Regions from separate parts of the Homo sapiens genome. Here all the other regions are linked to region 1. Evidence: promoter capture Hi-C in human tissues and cell types (Jung and others, 2019). All regions are on one chromosome and are shown on one strand. The core of a region is centred on a gene start or on the middle of the fragment in contact, and the rest is flanking DNA. Distances in the headings are between cores, read along the strand shown.

Region 1 (3,912 bases), core at 413-2,912:
GAGCCTGCCTTCCCCTGGGACAACAGGATGTAAAATAGCAGAGTCCAGACGCTGCCAGCTGTTTCCCTCCTCGATTTCCTATTCTCCTGGGGAAAGCTGAGGTGAGCTCAGGACAGCGCAGCTAAGAGTTCCCTCCTTCTCTCCCTGACAGGCTCCTGCGATGGCAGGGGTTCCCAGAGGGTACCCATGCTTGCCCAGCTCCATCTGCCCTCCTGAGAACAGCAGCCAGCGTGACGACGGAGGTGGGGGCAGATTCAGCCCCAGGAGCCTTGGGGCACACTCCTTCTGCAGGAGCCTCTAGGCACCAAGTCAGGCAGACATTGGACAGTGCTCTCTGGGGAGGGCAGGAAGAGCCCCCCACCCCACCCCTCAGGGCCCACCACAGAGAAGGACGCAGCCCGAGTCCATCAGAATTCACACACACACACACACACACACACACACACACACACACAGTCGTGAGACAGAGGCAGCGCCACACACCCGAGAAGGGAAAGACTCAGAGAAGCGACACACTTGGGTCTGAAAAGCTCTTAAGGAGCTCCCTAAGCATCGAGGCCGCCCTCTCGGCCAGAATCAAACACTTTGAAGGTCTTTAATAGGGAACAAAGACCACGGACTTCCCATGTGCCATTTAAAGTGAAAGCTACAAACACAGAAAATGTGCATGAAGAAGCCCAACAGAGTTCTGACTGTCTGTGATTTCTACCCTGATGCTTCAAAAACCGATGTATAGATGGGCTCACCCGCATTTTTTGTGGCCCTGGTTTGCTGATACCCTAAGCACCTCCTTAAGCCCCACAGCTGGGCCGCTTTCCCCACCCTCGAGTTCTCAGAAGAAACAGAGGCTCGGTGGAAAAGAGCCCCTGGGGCTAGGGACCTCCCACTCCCGCCGAGATCCCGCGCGGCTGTTCCCAGAGCCTTAGCTGCGCTCGGCTCACCTGGGGTGCAGGTCCACCAGCAGCACCAGCGTCTGCATGGTGATCACGTCGATGCGCTTGCAATGGAAGCGGGCCACCTTGAGCACCTTGAGGTACGTGCAGCAGAGCACGACGAAGGAGAGCAGGAAGCTGAGAGCGTGGAAGGCGCCAGTGAAGACGGCGAAGCGCAGGCGCTCGTCTGGCCGCCGGCTGCACAGCGTGCACGAGGCGTACAGCTGGTGGAAGCCGAGCCAGGACAGGGCGAGCGCGGCGGCTGGGAAGGTGAGCGCGTGCAGCCACGTGTAGGCCACCATGAGCGCCGCGTCGCGGAGGCGCATCTTGGCCCGGTAGCTCAGCGGGAAGACCACGGCCACCCAGCGGTCGATGCTGAGCGCGGCCATGCTGAGCATGGAGTTGGCAGCCAGGAAGGTGTCGAGGAAGGCAGCCAGGCGGCACAGGCGGTCGCCCGCCGGCTGCCGCTGCGCCACGACGCCGGCCAGCGTGAGCGGCATGTTGACCACGGTGCACAGCAGGTTCCCGCACGTGAGGTTCAGGGTGAAGAGCGCCGGCGCCTGGCGGCGGATGTCCGCGCTGTGCAGCAGGCAGAGCAGCACCAGCGCGTTGGACAGCAGCGAGACGCCCATCGTGCCCACCAGTAGCCCCGCCAGGCCCGCGTCCCACGAGTTCATGGTGCGCGCCCCGCGCCGGCGCTCAGGGTCCGCAACCCGGCGCCGCCATGGCGCTGCCCGCGGCCGGCTCAGCCCCTCGGCGCCGCCGCCGCCCGGCGACCACCGGCCCCAGCCGCCATGGCTCCCAGGAGGGCGCGCGGCCACCCCGGAGCCTCAGGCGGCCTCCCGGGCAGGCGTCTGGGCGCGCAGCCACCCGGGAGCCCCGCGCCGCCTCACGGGCAGGCACCTGGCGCGCGGCAGTGAACCCTGGCCCCCAGCAGCACCTCTGGAGCCAGCGACTGAGCGTGCGGTAGAACCCGAAGCCTTTAGCGCCCCGGGATCCTGGGTTGCAGGCACCTGCGCCCCTGCTCCGCCTCTGCCTCTGCTTCCTCCCGCTCTCACCCCATGCCCGCGAGCTCTGTCTCCGCTCCGCTCCGCGCACCCTCCCGCTCTCTTGCTTTCTCTCTTCCTCCCTCTCTGCTCTCTGGCTCGCTCTCTCTCTCTCTGCTCTCCCCTCCACCTCTCTCCCTCTCCCCGCCCCCCGCGCTGTTCTCTCCGTCTGTCTCTCCCACCCCCAATTTTCTCCCCTCTCTTGTTCTTCCCCCTCCTCTTCTCTCTGTCTCTGGAATCTGGCTGCTTCTATCACAGAAATCCCCACTGGTGCACACACAGACACACTCGCGCACACACACTCACACTTACAGGCTCGGAGGGAACCAGCCCCGAAGGCTCCGGTGCAGGGTGATTGGCTCACTGTGGCTCCCTTCCCCCAACATCCTCCATCCCCCCGTGTGTGTCAAAGACAGGCTGAGTCAAGGAAATCTCTCTGAGAAAAGGAAGGGATGCCTGGACACCTTCACGCCCCAGTGCCACCTGTCCCCGCCTGCATGCTATCCTGGCAGACCTTGACGTGAGTGTCCCAGCCTGTCTGTCCCAAGAACAGCTGCTGCATGACTGAGGTTACTCGATTCTCAGTGCCTTCTTTCCCTCGCCCTACAGCCAGAGCTTCGGCTGAATCCTAAGCCTGCTGCAGGGACCCCGAGGCTCTCTGTAACATCCCCTGGGCATCTCTCCAGCTGGGAGATGCCTTTGCTGACCCTGACTGCTCCCACCTGGGCAAGCCAGGCTGTCCACAACCAGCCTAGACAGCTAACCCTAGTATGGTGGATACTCTGTTGTCCTGCTCCAAGTTCCAGCAGCTGCCTCCTGTAGCCCTGAAGCCACACACCCCTCTGCCCTGAGACTGGTGAGGCAGCACATTCTAGTTTATGAGGGACCTGCCTGATATAAGGTGCCAGAACTCTTCAGAAAATGGGGAGGGTGTCAGCTGGCAGGCATGGTCCAAGCAACAGAGACCCTGGACACAGGGGACCCCTGCCTCCCCTCAGCAAAGTGTGCAGGGACTGTGGCCCTTCGGTTCTCAACCAAGACTCTGTGGGGAAGGGGTGGGGATGGACAGGCAGGGGCAGCTCTCAGAACCCCTGCAGCCCCCTTCAACTCTGTGAGATGCTGCCCTGCAGTGACCCCCTGCACCATGTCAGCAACCTCAGATCCCTGTCCTGGACATAGAAAGCCCTGTTCTGGAGCCTCCTGGTGTGGCCAGTGGTGACTGGACATTCCTGGGCCTCAAGCCACTAGATAAAGTAAGCCAAGCAAGGACGTGGTGGACTCTACGCCCTGAAGGTAGAGACCTCATTATACTTAATTATCTCCTTCACATAGTACCAAGCACATTGTAGATGCTGTATTGTGCCATTTTTCTTTGCTGTAAAGGAATACCTGAGATTGGGTAATTGATGAAGAAAAGAGGTTGAATTGGCTCATGATTCTGCAAGGTATGCAATCATGGCTCCAACATCTGCTCAGCTTCTGATGAGGGCCTCAGGAAGCTTCTAATCATGGCAAAAGGCAAAGTGGGAGCAGGCATGTCACATGGCAAGAGTGAAAGCCAGAAAGAGAAGGGGGAGGTCCCAGGCTTTTAAACACCATATCTCTCATGGACTGAGAAGTCATTCAGGATGGTGCCAACCCATTCATGAGGGCTCTGCCCCCATTATCCAATCGCCTTCGCCTCCCACCAGGGCCCACCTCCAACATTGGGGATTATGTTTCAACATGAGATTTGGAGGGGACAAACATCCAAACTTTATTAAATGCTCATGAAATGAGGTGTCAGGAGGGCAGAAACAAGATTCCCTCTCTTCTCTGTGTGTCCACAGATGACACTCATTGACAGTTATCTGAGTGACTGACAGCTGCAGACAGTGGAGTTCTGAAGCCAGCTCACACCAGCTCAAAAGGGCCCATTATGGGCATCTCTCTCC
Region 2 (3,912 bases), core at 922-3,421, 51 kb after region 1:
AAATTGCCACTGGGCCAGGCATGGTGGTTCACACCTATAATCTCAGCACTTTGGGAGGCTGAGGCAGGCAGATCACCTGATTTCAGCAGTTCAAGACCAGCCTGGCCAACATAGTAAAACCCCGTCTCTACTAAAAATACAAAAAAATTAGCTGGGCGTGGTGGCAGGTGTCTGTAATTCCAGCTACTTGGGAGGCTGAGGCAGGAGAAGTGCTTGAACCTGGGAGGCGGTGGTTGCAGTGAGCTGAGATGCACCATTGCACTCTGGCCTGGGAAACAAGAGTAAAACTCCGTCTCAAAAAAAAAAAAAAAAAAAAAATTGCCACCAACAATTCCTCCCCTCCAGGTGCGCGACTCCTCCCAGCAAAGGTTGTAGTCTTTCCTGCTTCTCACCTTGAGTTTCAGCTCTTGTAACTTGCTTTGACTAAAAGGATGTAGAAGGAGTGACAATATGCCAGTCAAGGTCCTACACTTTAAGAGGACTGGCAGCTTCTACTTTTGCCCTCTTAAAGCCAATTTTTGTATAAAAAAGTTCAGGTTAGACTGCTGAGTGATGAGAGTCCATGAATAGAGAGAGACCACATGAAAAAGAACCACAGCCTTCTGTCCGAGAGCCAGACAAGCCCTACACATGCAAGTGAGGTCACCTTGGATTCTCTGGTGGCAGGTGAGCTGCCCTATTGGTACCAAGTGCAGGAGAGAGGAACCTTCCCCACAAGTCTTGCACAAACATAGAATCACAAACAATAAAATGGTTGCTATTTTAAGCCACGAAAATTTGCGGTGGCTTGTTACACAGCAATAACTAATTGAAGGACTCCTTTTTTTTTTTGCTTTTATTTAAAATTTTTGTAGTTTTAAATTGTGATCAAATATACACAACATAAAATTTACCACTGTCTTAGTCTGTTCAGCCTTCTGTAACAAGACGTCATGAACTAGGTGGCTTAAAAACAACAGAAGTTGGCCGGGCATGGTGGCTCACACCTGTAATTCCAACACTTTGGGAGGCCAAGGCAGGTGGATCACCTGAGGTCAGGAGTTTGAGACTAGCCTGGACAACATGGTGAAACCCCATCTCTATTAAAAATACAAAAATTAGCCAGGTGTGGTGGCGCACCCCTGTAATCCCAGCTACTCAGGAGGCTGAGGCAGGAGAATTGCTTGAACCCAGGAGGCAGAGGTTGCAGTGAGTGGAGATCATACCATTGTGCAATGGTATTGTTCCCAGTCTGGGGAACAATAGCAAGACTTCATCTAGAAAAAAAAATTATTTCACACAGTTCTAGAGGCTGGGAAGTCAAAAATCAAGATGTCAGTGAATCTGGAGTCTGAGGAGGTCTTTCTTCCTGGTTCATGGATGGCACTCTGGGGCCTCTTTTATAAGGGCACTAATCCCACTCATGAGGGACCCCCCAGAGGCCCCACCTCCTAATACCATCACGTTGGTCATTAGGTTTCAACAGTCTAGTTTGGGGGAGACACAATCATTCAGACCATAGCACAATCTTAACTATTATTAAGTGTACATTTTCAGGTTCTGTGGCATTAAGTACATTCATGTTGTTATGCAACTGAAGAACTCTTATATATGCTCTAAATGTGTCTTCATGGAGCTACTGCAAAAAAAAATGCATGGGGCACAGATGCCTGCAAATGTTTTAACACATCATCAGGGATAAATGTGCATCAATTCTGCTTGATGTAAGGGTTTCTTCCCTAGTTCTGTATTCTGGGAGGAAAGTGGAAGAGGATGGGAAACTTCCTGGAAATGAGCAACCCAGGGCTGCACAGTGAGCCACCAACCTCTTTCCAGGTGAGCCTGGGAAATGCCAGAGATTTGCTTTTCTGCTGGACAAAGCTGGACAAAGCCTGGTTAGGTTTTGCTGTTTAAGCTTCATATCCCTTACAAATACTGGCAGATTTTGGCCTTACCTCACATAACATCAATCTTAGTTCTCAATATTGTTGTGACGGGTTGTTTCTTTTCCAGGCTTTGCGAGTATTTGAAGCAGAGATTTAGAAATATTGTTTAAAGATCTGTAGCCAGATGACATTTTTCCATTTGGGGAATTTAAAGATTCTTTTGTTACTCATCCCACTTTTTCTATCAATGTTAAACATTTTTCAGGAGCTCCTGACACTATGTGTGCTAAGATCTTGGCGAAGGGGCTCTCAGTTGGATCTCTGCCTGAGCCCAGGGGCGATCTAGGCCCTGGACAAAGTGGACACTAGTGAGAAAAAGCACAGAGACCTGAAAGAACATCTCCATCACCAGCCCGCAGAGACCCGAATCGCCCAGGCAGAGCCCACATCCACTGCCAGCCCTTCGCTGCAGACATCACCATGTTTCTAAGCCCATTCAAGACAGTTACCTGCAGTGGCTGGAGCTAGCCAGGATCCGGAGATAGCGGCGCTTTCCTATTCCTCAATATGAAGCAACAGGGGAGCTGTCCATGGTGCTGACCACAACCCCACATTACTGCACCGCGTCACCTGGATCCTGTCTGCTCACCGAGCTTGCTGCCTGCTTATTTAAGCAAGTCTTGGTCCTCATTTCTGTTCTAATATCTGCCTGGCCCACCCCTGCTCTGAACTGTGGGTTAGCGAATCAGGCGGCTAATACCACACTTATCAATGACACAGGGCCCCATGCTGAGGTAGAGCCAGGTCATCAGAGTCACCTCCATAGTTGTCAAATGCTGTTCTGCATCGGACAAATGGCTTAGATTTTTGAAGCTGTACTTTCTTTATCTGAAAAGTGGTAACAATAACATGGTTTTGAAGAGTAAAATTAGATAATAAATGTGAAAAAACTGGCACATGGCACATATAATGCTTAAAACAGTAGAAAACCAATCAATATGAACTTCCTTTCTATTTCCTGATCTTTTCCAAATTCTTAAGAATTAGTTTGGGTCACTGTTCAAGTATTTCCCAGAGAAAAAGTAAAGGCAAAGCCCCATCAAAAGCTTTTTTTTTTTTTCAGAGTCATGGTCTCACTTTGTTGCTCAGGCTGGAGTGCAGTGGGATGACTGTAGCTCATTGCAGCCTTGAAATTCTGGGCAGGGGGATCACTTGATGTGATCTGGACTCAGGCCACCATCGACCTGGTCAATCCTCAGTATGGGGCAGTGGCCTGCATTGCACCCCATGCCTCTACTCTGGAGGTCTCTCCTCCAAGACAGCCAGCCTGCTGGGGGCCATCAACCAAAGCCTCCACCCTGGTAAAGTACCAAGTGGAGAATGTTGCCTGCCTCACCTGACAGATTTTAGAGCAGGGAACAAGTCAGCTAACGTCTAACAAACAGCTGAATGGGTTTCATCTAATGATGCCAATAAACTAACAATTGCTGAAATTTTTAAATCTTCCACTTCAAGTAGACTTGGTAAAATTATTCAAGCAAAGCCTCAAATCTTCCTCAACCCCAGGAGCAGAGCCTCACTCAGACTAGAAAGATTCTTTCCCCATTTTCATGAAGGTGATTTAAGGCAATTACCACTTTGGGGTTTTACTTGGCTGTTAAAAATATATATAGTTCAACAGCAAATAAGCAAAACTTTGTCAAGCGATTTAAGTGTTTTTTACGTGCCAAGATTCATCTTATTCAATGAAGCAGAATTTGAGATCCCTCTGAGTGGGTCACATTTTTCAAACATTTAAAGATAGAGGACTTAATGAGGTTACCTTTCCCTCTCTTGTTGTCAAAGGCCCACAGGTAATCACATATAATATTTTGGGTTACTAATAAAACTCACAGTTGGAGGTAGGCTTGTGAAAAATAGGGCTGACCTCCTTCCCAAGCCCCAGGATGCTAGTGAAGCAGCCTTTCTGCAGATTTCCTGCTTCCTGCTGGAGGCCTGTTCTAGCCTCTGAAGCTGAGTCATCCGCCTGATGTCAGGTGCCAGACAA
Region 3 (3,912 bases), core at 389-2,888, 47 kb before region 1:
AAGAGCTTGGCAGGAACAAACACAAGTCCTCCCAGGAAGGACACACTATGCGGTTACTCAGAACTCCCAGAAAAAGACTGCCAGTAAGTTTGAGTCCCCTGTTTACAATAATTACAAAATAGCAAGACGACAAGCCCTTTGAGCCAGAGTCAGACCAAACAACATATAACAGAACAGAGCTACGATGACACTTAATAATGAAAGTATGAATTCCAAATATACAGTAAGTATATACAGAAGGCACTGTTAACATAAGTAAGGTACAAGAGACTATAAAAAATGACCAGAAGCAAGAGTAAGTTTTGAAAATTGAAAATATAATTATAGGAATTAAGATCGTAATGGAGAAGTTTAAGATCAGAATTGACATAGCAGAAGAGATCACTGTGAAATGGAGGATAGATCTGAAGGATTTACCCAGAAACCATCAGAGGGACAAAAAGAGATAAAAAAATATATAAAGGAGAAATTAAGATGTGTAGAAGGTAAAGTAAGGCTAGTCAATAGATAGGTTTTGAAGTTCAAAGGAGATCGTGGCAAGAGTGGGGAAAAAATGATACTCAGTGAGATTACTGCTGAACATTTTCTGCAAATAATGGGAGGAAAAAAATCTGACTTCCTAAATCCTTTAAGCTGGTCTGCTAAAAAGAATCCACTTCTAGATGTGTGACAGTTAAACCTCAACACCAAAGACAAATAGAATGGCTTAAAGCAGCCTGAAAGAAGAGACAAATTACTAACAAAAGAAAAAAATGGTTATACTGGGAGCAGATTTCTCAATAGCAGCAAAAATATTATTCCATCATCTTTGGAAACCAGAAGATGGTGGAAAAACATCTTTGGATAAATAAAAGAACGTTAACCTTGTACAGCCAGTGAAACTGGCTTTCAAGAATAAGAGTGAATTACCTACATTTAGATAAAAACAGAACATTTACCACCCAGGGCTGGAACTAGGTGAGGCAAGTGAGGTGCCAGGAACATAAAATTTGAGAAGGACTCATTCTCAGTGATGTGAAGTTCAGGGTTAGTGCCTGAGAGTGAGGGTTAACACTGATATGGTTTGACTGTGTCCCCACCCAAATCCCATCTTGAATTGTAGCTCCCACAATTCCCATGTGTCATGGGAGGGACCCAGTGGGAGGTGTTTGAATCATGGGGACAGATCTTTCCCATGCTGCTCTTGTGTTAGTGAATAAGTCTCATGATCTGATGGTTTTATCAGGCAGAGTTTCCCTGCAGAAGCTTTCTCTTGCCTGCCGCCGTGTGAGATGTGCTTTTGCTCTTTCTTCATCTTCCACCATGATTGTGAGGCCTCCCCAGCCATATGGAACTGTGAGTCAATTAAACCTCTTTCCTTTATAAATTACCCAGTCTTGGGTATGTCTTTATCAGCAGCATGAGAACAGACTAATACAGACACATTTACTTTAATTTTACCTCCCAGGTGCCTCACTCTAGTCCTGACCCTGTTACCACCAAAATATCCCCACTGAGGAACTTCTAGTGAATATATTTCAAGAAGAAGGGAACTAACCCCAGGAAGAAGGTATGAGGTATAAAAAGAAATGAGTTAATGAAATACAAAATGTCTAGACAAGTGTAGATATTTTGAATGTACAAAAAGTAAGAAATGTTTAATATTTGGACTAAAAAGGGAAAGATGGAGCTGGACAGCCAGATGACAGTAGCATCTGAGCCAGGAGGGGATGACTGCTGTTAAAACAGTCAGCAATTCTCATATTGTACAAGAGGGTGATGATTGTCCTAAGATATGTGCTTGTTGGAATTTCTCTGGTAGCTGCTGAGTGCTGCTTCTTGCTGGACTTCCTCTGTGACCCTTGGCTTTCTCTGCCTTGCATTTTGGCCGCATGGGAACCTGGTTGCTCTCTCATCAGGGTCCATGGGCTCCTCCACATAAAAGGCCACATGACCTGCATCTTCAAGCCCCCCTCAGTGTCTTTGTAAACAGAATGTACCCAGAAAATATGTGTTTAACACCTTAGACTCACAGTTTTGGTGGTTTCTGTTGTTGTTGTTGTAGTTGTTGTTGTTTTTTGGCCCAAACTGAATGAAGTTGTTTATTCTGCTAGACTGAAAGCTTCATGAGGATAAACTGAGACTCTTCGCTATTGAAATTCTATTGCCAGGCGCATCCCCCAGCCCACAGTAAGTACTCAAAGAATCTTTCTTGAATGGCTTTATAACCATTTTTGATGGAGAAATGTAACATATGGGTATTACCCTTTGGTTTTTCATTTCTCTAGTCTACAGATATTTGAGCACCGATCACGATGGTTAATTTTAGGTGTCAACTTGTTTGGATTAAGGCATACCTAGAGAACTGGTAAAGCATTAATTTTAGGTGGATCTGTGAGAGTGTTTCCAGAGGAGATTGGTGTGTGAGTCAGTGGATTGAGTGGGGAAGATCAACCGTCAATGTGGGTAGGCACCATCCAGTCATCTGGAGGCCCGGAAAGAAAAAAAGGCAGAGGAATGGTGGATTCTTTCTCTCTCTCTCTCTCCTGGGGCTGGGAAACCCTTCTTCTCCTGCCGTTGGACATCAGAACTCTGGGCTCCTCGGCCTTTGGGCTCCAGGACTTACACCAGCCCTCCCTGGGTTCTCAGGCTTTTGTCCATGAACTGAGAGTGACACCATCAGCTTTCCTGGTTCTGAGGCCTTCGAACTTGGACTGAGCCACACTAGTGGCATCCATGGGTCTCCAGCTTGCAGATGGTCTATTGTGGGACCTCTCCATAATCGCCTGAGCCAATTCTCCTGATAAATCTCCTCTCATATGTCTATATTTTCTATTGATTCTATCTTTCTGGAGAAGTCAAATACACATACTACCTTCAAGCACTGTTCTAAGTACTACAGAGATAGGCAATGATGAGCAAAATATAGACATGATTCCTGTCTTTACAACCCTTGCTGTCTAGGCTCATGATTTTTAAACATTTCAACTGGTACACACTTACCACACAATGATAAAGATTTGATGTATCTTTAGTACATGACGTACTCTGATGTTTTCTATTTTATTCATGTTTTTTCCTAAATTAAAAGGGCTGTCACAACCTGCTAGTTGATTTTATGACCCATGACTGCTCAGATTATTCTTGCAGTTTGAAAACCATTGACCCAGTGCAGAGGTTCGGAATCTCTTCTCTGTCATGGATTCCTCAAAAACATATTTTACAATGCACAAAACAATGTATATAGGATTAGAAAGGAAACCCACTACCTTAAAGTGCAATTACAAGAATATTTTAGTAAACGAATGTGTCATATATTAATATGTGTGCTTCATTATTAATGCATTCAACACAAGATCTGACAACCAACTCATATTGCTGTAATTTTGAAGTGATGAGCAGAAATGCTATTTTTAGAATTCTGCAACTGTAATGTGATATTAAAATATCTATGATTATTATTAGTGACAAAGTCATAGGCACTGCTAATACTACTTTTGAGTGTCACATTCATGATTGAAGGAATGCTACATTTCAGGTTAGTGAAAACAAAGAAATGTTTTTTCACCATCCAAATTAATAAATCCCAAAATGTCTGTGGATCCCCAGATAGGAATCCCTGGTCTAATGGATCCACATTTTATCTCAGTAATACCAAAAAAAAATTTTTTTTCTAAGACAGGGTCTCAATTTGTCACCTAAGTCAGAGTGCAGTGGTGCAAACATGGCTCTTTGCAACCTCTACCTCCCAGGCTCAAGGTATCCTCCTGCCTCAGCCTCTTGAGTAGCAGAGACTATAGGTGCATGCCACCACGCCTAGCTAATTTTTGTATTTTTTTGTAGAGACGGGGTATCACCATGTTGCCCAGGCTGGTCTCGATCTCCTGGGCTCAAGCAATCTGCCTGCCTCAGCCTCCCAAAGTGTTGGGATTA

Evidence for each region. Contacts are between HindIII fragments. The study calls those that stand out against the background at their distance.
Region 2: a contact is called between a fragment that was not itself captured here and the fragment with the promoter of GPR26 in region 1, in 2 of the 25 tissues and cell types used here (H1 embryonic stem cells and mesendoderm cells).
Region 3: a fragment that was not itself captured here is called in contact with the fragment with the promoter of GPR26 in region 1 in 2 of the 25 tissues and cell types used here (adrenal gland and mesendoderm cells).

Annotation. Positions count from the first base shown.
Region 1 is chr10:123,664,105-123,668,016 of GRCh38, reverse strand. It overlaps GPR26 (G protein-coupled receptor 26), which reads right to left and starts at 1,662. Exons shown (of 3, transcript NM_153442.4): 1 at 942-1,662. The coding sequence starts at 1,609. RefSeq lists enhancers at 840-1,377, 1,378-1,916, 1,917-2,454. The HindIII fragment of the contact is 11,073 bases long and covers 1-3,912 here.
Region 2 is chr10:123,613,642-123,617,553 of GRCh38, reverse strand. No RefSeq gene overlaps it. Among named protein-coding and RNA genes, the nearest start is that of GPR26, 51 kb to the left of the region's middle. The HindIII fragment of the contact is 3,152 bases long and covers 596-3,747 here.
Region 3 is chr10:123,710,871-123,714,782 of GRCh38, reverse strand. It overlaps LOC105378532 (a long non-coding RNA gene), which reads left to right and starts at 1,296. Exons shown (of 5, transcript XR_946421.4): 1 at 1,296-1,335; 2 at 1,448-1,549; 3 at 2,094-2,169. The HindIII fragment of the contact is 3,748 bases long and covers 1-3,512 here.